2 separate regions of the Homo sapiens genome follow, and region 2 is linked to region 1. Evidence: promoter capture Hi-C in human tissues and cell types (Jung and others, 2019). All regions are on one chromosome and are shown on one strand. Each heading gives the region's core, a stretch centred on a gene start or on the middle of the fragment in contact. The rest is flanking DNA. Distances are from core to core; before and after follow the strand shown.

The links. The method cuts DNA at HindIII sites, captures the fragments that hold promoters and counts their contacts. A contact is called where the count stands out against the background at its distance.
Region 2: a fragment that was not itself captured here is called in contact with the fragment with the promoter of FBXO32 in region 1 in 1 of the 25 tissues and cell types used here (dorsolateral prefrontal cortex).

The regions. Positions count from the first base shown.
Region 1 is chr8:123,538,860-123,543,578 of GRCh38, reverse strand. It overlaps FBXO32 (F-box protein 32), which reads left to right and starts at 2,373. Exons shown (of 9, transcript NM_058229.4): 1 at 2,373-2,680. The coding sequence starts at 2,565. RefSeq lists silencers at 1,847-2,136, 2,227-2,336, 2,387-2,476. The HindIII fragment of the contact is 9,982 bases long and covers 1-4,719 here.
Region 2 is chr8:124,528,178-124,532,896 of GRCh38, reverse strand. All of the region lies in intron 1 of TATDN1 (TatD DNase domain containing 1), which reads left to right. Among named protein-coding and RNA genes, the nearest start is that of TATDN1, 8.5 kb to the left of the region's middle. RefSeq lists an enhancer at 4,618-4,667. The HindIII fragment of the contact is 4,550 bases long and covers 146-4,695 here.

The DNA of each region.
Region 1 (4,719 bases), core at 1,124-3,623:
TCACAAAAATCTCAGTGGCATCAACAAGACACATTTATTTCTTGCTAACACATCTGTGAGGTCAACGGGAGTGTCTGCTCCATGTGTCACATCCTGGGACACACGGATGTCACTCAAACCACTCCAGGAGCAGTGGCTACACAGGGTATGCTCTTTTCATGGAGCAGGTGAACACACAAAACATCAAGACCAACCAGGCAAGTACATACATCAGATCCTCTGCTCACATCACATCCATCAGCATCCCCTTGGCTAAAGCCAGTCATATGGCCAAGCCCATTGTCAAGAATTAGAAAAATACACATCACCAAAAAGTGTGGGCACATGACGCTACTGGAAAGGAGGGAAGAATGGGTACTAATAATTCAATCTACCACAGCTTTTAAACCATCCTGAAAGGTAGGCATTATTGGCTCCATTTTTTCTTGACAGTTAAGTAAATGGGGCCCTAAGAGTTTAAGTCATTCATCCAAGGGAGGACAGGTAGTATGCTGCTCCAGCAGAATTAGAATTCAAAACTTCTACCTTCTGGCCCTCTGTGGTCTCTACAGGTATGTAGCCAGCTTACTAATACATAACTAACCCACATTGTTCATAATCACATCCCAGGCGGGCATGGTGGCTCACGCCTGTAATCCCAACACTTTGGGAGGCCAAGGAAGGAGGATCACTTGAGCCCAGGAGTTTAAGACTAGCCTGGGCAAGATAGCAAAACCCTATCTCTACAAAAAATATAAAAAATTAGCCTGGTGCAGTGGTGAGTGCCTGTAGTCTCAGCTACTGGAGACTGGGGCCGAGGTGGGAGGATGGCTTGAGCTGGGGAGGCTGAGGCTACAGTGAGCCATGATCACTCACTCTAGCCTGAGTGACACAATGAGACCCTGTCTCAAAAATAATAATAATAATAATCACATCCCTTAATTATGCAGATACCAATTCCCTCCAACAGAGACCAGACCCAACACTGCCTCATTTGTTAGCACCATCACAGTGTTTAACATTTGTTTGGGACTTCTTCAATGTTTTTACAAGCTTTTTTTTTACTATTACTACACTAATAAATTATTTACGGTGGGAAATCTAAATCAGAAAGCTCTGGCTTCTTGAAAACAAACTTTATTAAAAACGTCTTCCCAGTCCAACATGTAGCCTCATAGGGCACACACAATTTCTTTGCCTGAGCCTTAAAGATTACACCGAGTCAGTGGACTAGATGATATTGATGGCTGCAGAGAAAGAAGAATGGAAGAATGAAGTTTGAAGCTAATGCTTGAGTATGGGATTTTTACTCTGCTGCTGCTGTCCTGTGCAAACTAATTGCCAAATAGACCAGGCTGTAAAGCATCATAACTAGAGGTGATGAAGGGCAAGAAGCCACCCTCATGCCAGCAGCCTCCCGTATCCATTCACTTATTCACACAAATAGTTGTTGAAGGCCTGCACTGGGCCTGGCAGGGTGCAGGGGCTGAAATGCCTCCGGAACAAGACAGACCAGCTCTCATGGAGTTCCCACTGCAGACAGGGGTAGATTGTTGTAACAACAGCAAAAAGTAAAAGCAAACAGGGTAGTTTCAGATTGTACTGTAGCATTGGCCCTGGGTACATCATTTAACCCGTCTCTTAGAGGGTTCGGGTAGGATAGGGGCGCTGTTCTTTTTCTCCACTCCCAACCTGCGGGAGCCAGATACCTCCCAGGGCTTCCTCTCCTTCCCCTCCTTTGCTGCCCCAGGGGCAGGTCTGAAGGAGGACTGGTTAGTGACAGCTAAGGGGCCCGGAGGGCTGGGAGGCTGTCCCTCCTCCCCGCTCCAACCCCCGCGCGCTAGGGCGGGGTTGGGGCAGTGAGCGAGGTCAGGAGGCTGCGCCCCCTACTCCCCGCCCGGCGGGCGCGGTGCCGGCCCCAGCTCTGCGGACGGCCCGGGAGGCTGATCTGGCTGCGGAGGTCGATCCTGATAGCTCGGGGGCAGGAGGGGGGCTGGCCCTGCTCCTCACGCCCACCCCGCAGGGACCCAGACGCCCCTCCGGCCCCCTCCCTGCACCCCGTCAGCCCGGGAGCTGCAGGAGACCGGGGCGCATCTTTCCAAGCGCCGGGCCTCGCTCTGGGACAACGGTGTCCTGGGGGCGGGGAGGGCGCGCGGAGGTGCCAGGGGCGGCGGGGTACCCGGCCCGGCAGCACCGCTTCAAGTTTCCACCGGCGCGGTTGTGCAACCGGGAGGGGAGCGTGAGCCGCAGGCGCCTCGGAAAACAAGCCGAGCCCATAAACAAAGCCACGTGGCCTCCGGGCCGGGGGGCCGGGCTAAGAGCGGGCGGCTCTTCCGGCAACAAAGAGCTGCGGCCGGCTGCGGGGATAAATACTGCGGCAGCTACTGCCGCGCAGCACTCCCGGAGCCTGCAACGCTTGAGATCCTCTCCGCGCCCGCCACCCCGCAGGGTGCCCCGCGCCGTTCCCGCCGCCCCGCCGCCCCCGTCGCGGGCCCCTGCACCCCGAGCATCCGCCCCGGGTGGCACGTCCCCGAGCCCACCAGGCCGGCCCCGTCTCCCCATCCGTCTAGTCCGCTCGCGGTGCCATGCCATTCCTCGGGCAGGACTGGCGGTCCCCCGGGCAGAACTGGGTGAAGACGGCCGACGGCTGGAAGCGCTTCCTGGATGAGAAGAGCGGCAGTTTCGTGAGCGACCTCAGCAGGTGAGGGGACCCGCTACCAACTTCCAGCCCCCGCGAAACTGACCCGGGCTGGTCTGGGGGGCGCAGGGACGGCGAATGAGGGGCAGGCAGGGCTGGAGCGGGCTGAGGAGGGAGACCCTGACCCGGAGGGTGGGACTACGGGGCCCGATTTCTGCAGAGGTCTTCGGACCACCGGAGACAGGGAATTCGGTTTCTCTTATTGTTCAAGGTCAGTGTCTCCAAGTGGACACGACTCCTTACAGAACACCTGGTCCCTCTGAGAGTCTGATGACATTCGCGGATCGTGTCCCCAAACGTTCGCTCAAACTTAATCACACAGCTTTAGTGGTCCCTGCTTTAAGGACACCGGAGTCGCGCACTTTGCCCATGTGGGGGCGCGGGCGGGTGGGCTGAGCCCCTTCACCGCGGGGTGGCCCGGCTCCCAGCGCCCAAGCGCTGTGGACGCGACAGGTGACGGGATCCGACGAAGGTCCCGCCTGGAGCGCTTCCAGGCCCTGCCCAGGCACGGGCAACCACGAAGTGGCCGGGAGGATGAGTAACCAGGAAGGGACGGCCAGATGGTCCCTGGGGCAGCCGCTTACTGGGCGGACTTGCGAGCGGTGGAGGCTTGGGGCTGCAGAGGTGCAAAGGAGGGAAGGGGGCAGGGGATGAATCCCACAAGAGCTCTGCTTCTGGGAGGACAGGGCTCTTGCACCTGTTTCCTCGGTGGCCCTCTCGGTCGGTCTGCTTTGTATAGAGTGCACTCCGTTTCCAGGGGTGCCTGTCAGCTGCGAAAAGCCTGCCTGGCCCCGGTGAGCCTCTGGATTCGAGGCCTCACCTGAGCTCTGTGGTCTGGCGGGAAACCTGAGGTCCGCTGCGCTCCCTGCTCAGCTTGGCTAACGATGCCAGCGCCGGCTAGTACGCAAGGTAGCCTGGAATTTCTCAGCCCCTGACCTCGACAGTTGACTTTCAGAGACTCTCAGCATTTAGCCCGGTGAGCGGGGGCGATGAAAGTGATTCCAGAATGGACTGGTGCAGCCAGAGTCACCCTTGGGAGCCTTTTCCTGCCACCTTTGGTTAAAACCATGGGCCCCTGCACCCTTAAATTGACTTCAATGGAGAATTCTGTTTCTGGGCCAGGTTCCCGCTTACTGAGATTTACCAGTCGTTGCTTGGATGAAGCATTGGCAATAAATTTTGAGAAAACTATCAAGAAAATGTGGTTATTTTGGCAACTTGAACTCCCGTGCCTCCCATTTGTTTGTGATTTGTAATGCATCAAATTCCCATTGTCTCACAATGTAAAGAAAGACATTATTTAATTCTGGGGGTCTGTCCGGAGAGACTTGAGCGTATTAACCACCAGCATATAACCATTTACGTTGGAGTTACTTGGAGGCTGTCCCAGGGGAGTTTAGGGACCACCATAAGGAAATCTTATTTACGTAAAATCAAGTAATTTATTTACGGGAAAGTAAGACCAACTGCTATTGACAGACTATGTCTTTTATCGACTGGAGTTACCAATTATGCCTAAATTATTCTCCCTCAACAAAATGGGAACCTTCCTTCCTTCCTCCTTGTTCCTAAGGACAATGATCTAATATGTTGGTACTTTATTTCTGTATACAAGTTCAGGTTCTTTCTAGAAAAGTGCCGAAAGGGTCTGAAGAGTCATGTTAGAGCTGCTCACCCAAATATAATTGCAGGATGCTCCTCAGTGGAGAACAGATGATTGAGTTCAGCAGAAGATTTAAAATGTAGGGTCGTATTAATACTTACCCTACTCGGGAGGCTGAGGTGGGAGGATGGCTTGTGCTCAGAAGTTCAAGGCTGCAGCGAGTCATGACTGTGCCACTGCGCTCCAGCCTGGGCCACAGAGCGAGACCCTGTCTCTAAAAATAAATAAAAATTTAAAATTTGTTTTAAAATACCCTATACCGGCATCAGGAGAGAAACTGGTGTCACTCTCCTTTAGAAATAGTGGTATCTCTGTCTTCACAGTATGGAAGACCTGAAGATGGTCTTAACTTACCACAAAAGTTTAGACTGGGCTGGAA
Region 2 (4,719 bases), core at 1,171-3,670, 990 kb before region 1:
TATAGACTTAAGGGAGACCCCCTTACCCACTAATGGATCCTTTCTCAAAAATTCTGCTGGCTTCCATTATGCAGCCTATGTGGTGGTCTCTGTGATGGGAATCATTGAATCAGGCCCCCAGCCAACTGCCCGATCTGCCCAACGAGCAGAATTAGCATCCCCTCACTTGGGCCTGCCTACTGGCCTGGGGTGAAACGGTTAATATTTATGCAGACAGCACGTATGTCTTTGGAGTTGCCCATGATTTTGGCATGCTCTAGAAACAAAGAGGATTTTTTACTTCCTCTGGACAACCTATTAAGAACAAAGACTAGGCCAGGTGCAGTGGCTCACGCCTGTAATCCTAGCACTTTGGGAAGCCGAGGCAGGTGGATCACTTGAGGTCAGGAGTTTGAGACCAGCCTGACCAACATGGTGAAACCTCGTCTCTATAAAAAACACAAAAATTAGCCAGACGTGGTGGCATGCACCTGTAATCCCAGCTATGTGGGAGGCTGAGGCAGGAGAATCACTTGAGCCTGGGAGGTGGAGGCTGCAGTGAGCTGAGATTGCACCACTGCACTCCAGCCCGGGCGACAGAGTGAGACTCTGTCTCAGAAAAAAACAAAAACAAAGACTGTTTTGTTTCTCTTAGATGCCATTCAGGCTCATTGAGCCCTAGCCGTTATCATAGTCGAAGGACATTTCTCTGACAAGACAGAAGACAGCGAAGGCAACCACCTAGTGGATGCAGCAGCTAAAGCTGCCACCCAGCATGTGGCTCCTTCCCGAGTTGTACTCAACCCACTCCTCCTCCTCCTCCTCCTCCTCCCCCCCTTGCTCTTCCTTCTTCCTTGCTCCCCTCCCCATCTGAAGACCTTTCCAGACTTATTTTCACAAAAGACAGTCTTGGAGTCTGGAAGAGGGAAATGGATGAAACAAAATTGCGCTTGCAATCCCCAGACAAAATTACAGGAAGGTCCAAATGGACATCCAGTCCTACCCAGCACCCTGCAAAGACAAACAACCTTCATACATAATCTAACCCATTAGAATCCAGACAAAATGATTCAGTGGGGTAGACAGTACTACTGTATGGTGGCTCTCTCCAGCTCTTGCCCCACCGCTATGTAAACTTTGCAATATCTACCCTCAGTATAACCCAGGTGAACTCCTGAAGCTCCCTCCAGGACAATTTCCTCTCCCCTAGGGTCCCTTAACCATGTGACAACTTGATTTCATTTAGTTACCACCATCCCACAGATTAAATTTTGTTCTTCTAATGGTTGACGATGTATTCTCATTGAGGTAGGTCTTTCACCTGTAAACAAGCAACAGCTATGGTGGTGGCCAAAATGCTGCTTGAGAAAAACCATTCCTATCTAGGGTGTTCCCACTGAATTCCACAGCGACAGAGGCACTCATTTTACCTGCCAAATACTAGAACAAGTTTTTTAAATCTGCCCTTTTACAGCACTTTCACTGTGCCTATTACCCCCAGTCCTCTGGGCTAGTTGAACAGTCTAATGGGATCATTGAAAGCGAGCTGGCGAAAGTTACAGAAACTTAACCTGTCCTTGCCTAAAGCTCTCCCATTAGCATTACTGATTCTGCAGTCCATTCCCACCAGTAAATGTCAGCTCTCCCCTTTTGAAATTGTTACTGGTTGGTCTGTGCACTTAGACCAGGAAATATTTTCTCCTGCCAAATGACAGGAGGGAACTTTAGGCTTATTGCCAGGGGCTTGTTAAAGCTATAAAGATCAGTCACTGCAAGTTGTAGAATCTTTTTACAGCTTCCCAACAGGCCATAAACTCCAGTATTACCACCTCCAGCTTGGTGATGACAAGTAGTGGAAGAGACATCAGTTAAAATACTTCATCCAGCCTACTGGATGGGTGCTATTAATTAATCCTTGTGCTGCTAAGTTATAGAGATTGACTCCTGGTCGCACATGTCTCATCTGAAAACAACAACCCTTGCTGAATCTTGGAAGTTGGTGCCAGTCTCTACACGAGACTTCAGTTAACCAGAGCCTCATCTTTAGACCCAGAAAAAGGCAATAGTCAACATAAACTGCTTTCATGAGACCCAGGGCCAGGACTGTATTCAAAGACACTGGGTCTCATTTAATAATTTGCCTCTATCTAAACTAATAGAATTTGTTCCATGCCTTTCTGCTAGATAACTTCGATGTTTAGCTACCTGTGTGCTTCCTCTTCTTGTCTTTATCAGAACTGAGCAGGGCTTATGACCCCCACTCCTGAGGACATCATTGCTTTGTTCCTGTAGTGAGATGTTCTCTTACTTAAGGACAGTCCCTTAAGTTTGTCAGATAATCCCCTTGGATTTGTATGGGATTTATGGTTTTTCCCTTGGTTCAGTTTTCTGAATTGTTAAATGGCTGTTCCCTCCATTCCTTTTACTCATACCTGCACTGTCACCTTTCCCTCTCTTTGCAATTGTCCCTCTGTCTTGTCTCAATGCAGAGAATGGCATGATAACACTTTAGTTAAGCTGTCCCACATGTTGCTAGTAGAAGGAAACCTATTGGATTGCTGGATTTGCCAACAACTTCCTTGATCCATTCATAATAGATATGTGCCATTGGTAATATCTGTCACTGACTGCTCAGATGTCCCTAATGTCACCACTTACCCAGACCAACCCCTTTCCCTGTTGATTTTCCAGGTCCAATTCCTTCAAAGCCCAGATATTGTCACCCCTTGTTTTGATGTGTCCTGTGTTTTTAACATTGGAAACCCATTCTTTACCATGGGACCTTCTTTGTTGTTGTTGTTCTTTGGGTTTTTTATGGTTTTTTTTTGAGACTGAGTCTTGGCCTGTTACCCAGGCTGGAGTGCAGTGGTGAGATCTCAGCTCACTATAACCTCCGCCTCCCGGGTTCAAGCGATTCTCCTGCCTCAGCATCCCAAGAGCTGGGATTACAGGCACCTGCCACCATGCCCAACTAATTTTTGTATTTTTAGTAGAGACTGGATTTCACTGTGTTGGCCAGGCTGGTCTTAAACTCCTGACCTCAAGTAATCCACCTGCCTTGGCCTCCCAGAGTGCTGGGATTACAGACATGAGCCACTGCACCCGGCCTACCATGGGACCTTCTTGACCTATGAACTACTGGATAGACAAGTGTCATCTACATCAGATAAATAAAGTTAAAAATATATCCCTACAGTGCCCACAATATTTACATTTAAAATAAGTGAGTGGATTCTGGAAAGCTTGCAAGAGAAATGGCCCATAGTTTAGTTTGGTGATGTCAGCACTCCGCATGAATACATCTGCTAATTAAGACATCCTCAGGAGTATCACTTGTGCCCCCCATTCAGGCTGTGTGTTTGTATGTGGCATAAGGTCTGATCCACCTGCACAGCTTTGGGCACACTGTTGCCTCGGCAGCCTACAGTTAGAAGGTTCATGCTTGCTGAGATATTTTGTAACCCCCCGTATCCTTACACAAACTTACAGAAGGACCCCCTTTCTCTCCATTATTAAACTAAAAGGTCTGTGTTGGCAGGGTGTGAAGGTGATACAGATCAAAGCATCCTGGGAATATTAATTCCGAGTGTTGGGATTTATGTCAATAAGGATATGATTTGAAAAGTCTTTGCCACTATTAGTCACATTGTTGCGGGATTTAGGAGTATGAGAGACCTCGGGTTGAAACAGGAGAATCTTTTATTGAGTGCACTCAGGCCCAGCAGACTCAGGTCCAAAGACTGAGCCCGAAACAAAGACAGCACTTGACTTTTATACACACTTCACAAAAGGGTGTGGGCTAGCTTGAAGCAAGCTTACAGTGGTGTGAAAGCAGGGATACAGAGGCAGGACAGACTCAGGATTGCTCATGACCATTGCCAAGCAACCCAGGTGTCCGTTATCTAGGTTTGCCTAGGCACGGGCTTATCCCATAACCTTCACTGTGGGGCCCAGGCAGCTGTAGTTCAGGCCTACTCAGGCTTCTCGTGACCTTTGTTGTACTTCTTAGATAAAACAGAATACTTGAAGTTACTAGTTACAGAGAACAAGAATCTATAAACTCATACCATAAAGCAAAGGAAAATTTGTTTTTCTTCTCCTTATGTTGAGGGAGTGCTGGGAGAGTCTCCACAGCACATTAGATACCATTATCAAGACTTTTCCTGGGTCTGGGTTGTGCCTGTTGCCGCCTCTGGGACAAGTCAGTCTAATACAGGAAAACTTATTTCTCTATCTTTTTAATTTTATTTTTCTTTAATTTCCCACCTCAAGATAGCTGCAGACACTGCAAAAAGCCTTGTAGCTCAACAAAAGTCTCTAAACTCCTTGGCTCAAGTAGTACTAGATAATAAAGTTGCCGTAGATTTTCTCCTAGCCAAACAAGGAGTTGTTTGGCCCATACCTCCTGTTACATAAGTACTTCAGGTGAAATAGAAACTGTTAGAGGCCGGGCGCAGTGGCTCACCCCTGTGATCCCAGCACTCTGGGAGGCCGAGGCGGGAGGATCACAAGGTCAGGAGATCGAGACCATCCTGGCTAACATGGTGAAACCCCGTCTCTACTAAAAATACAAAAAATTAGCCGGGTGTGGCGGCAGGCGCCTGTAGTCTCAGCTACTTGGGAGGCCGAGGCAGGGGAATGGCGTGAACCTGGGAGGTGGAGCTTGCAGTGAGCCGAGATGGCACCACTGTACTCCAGCCTGGGTGACAGAGCGAGACTCCATCTCAAAAAAAAAAGACA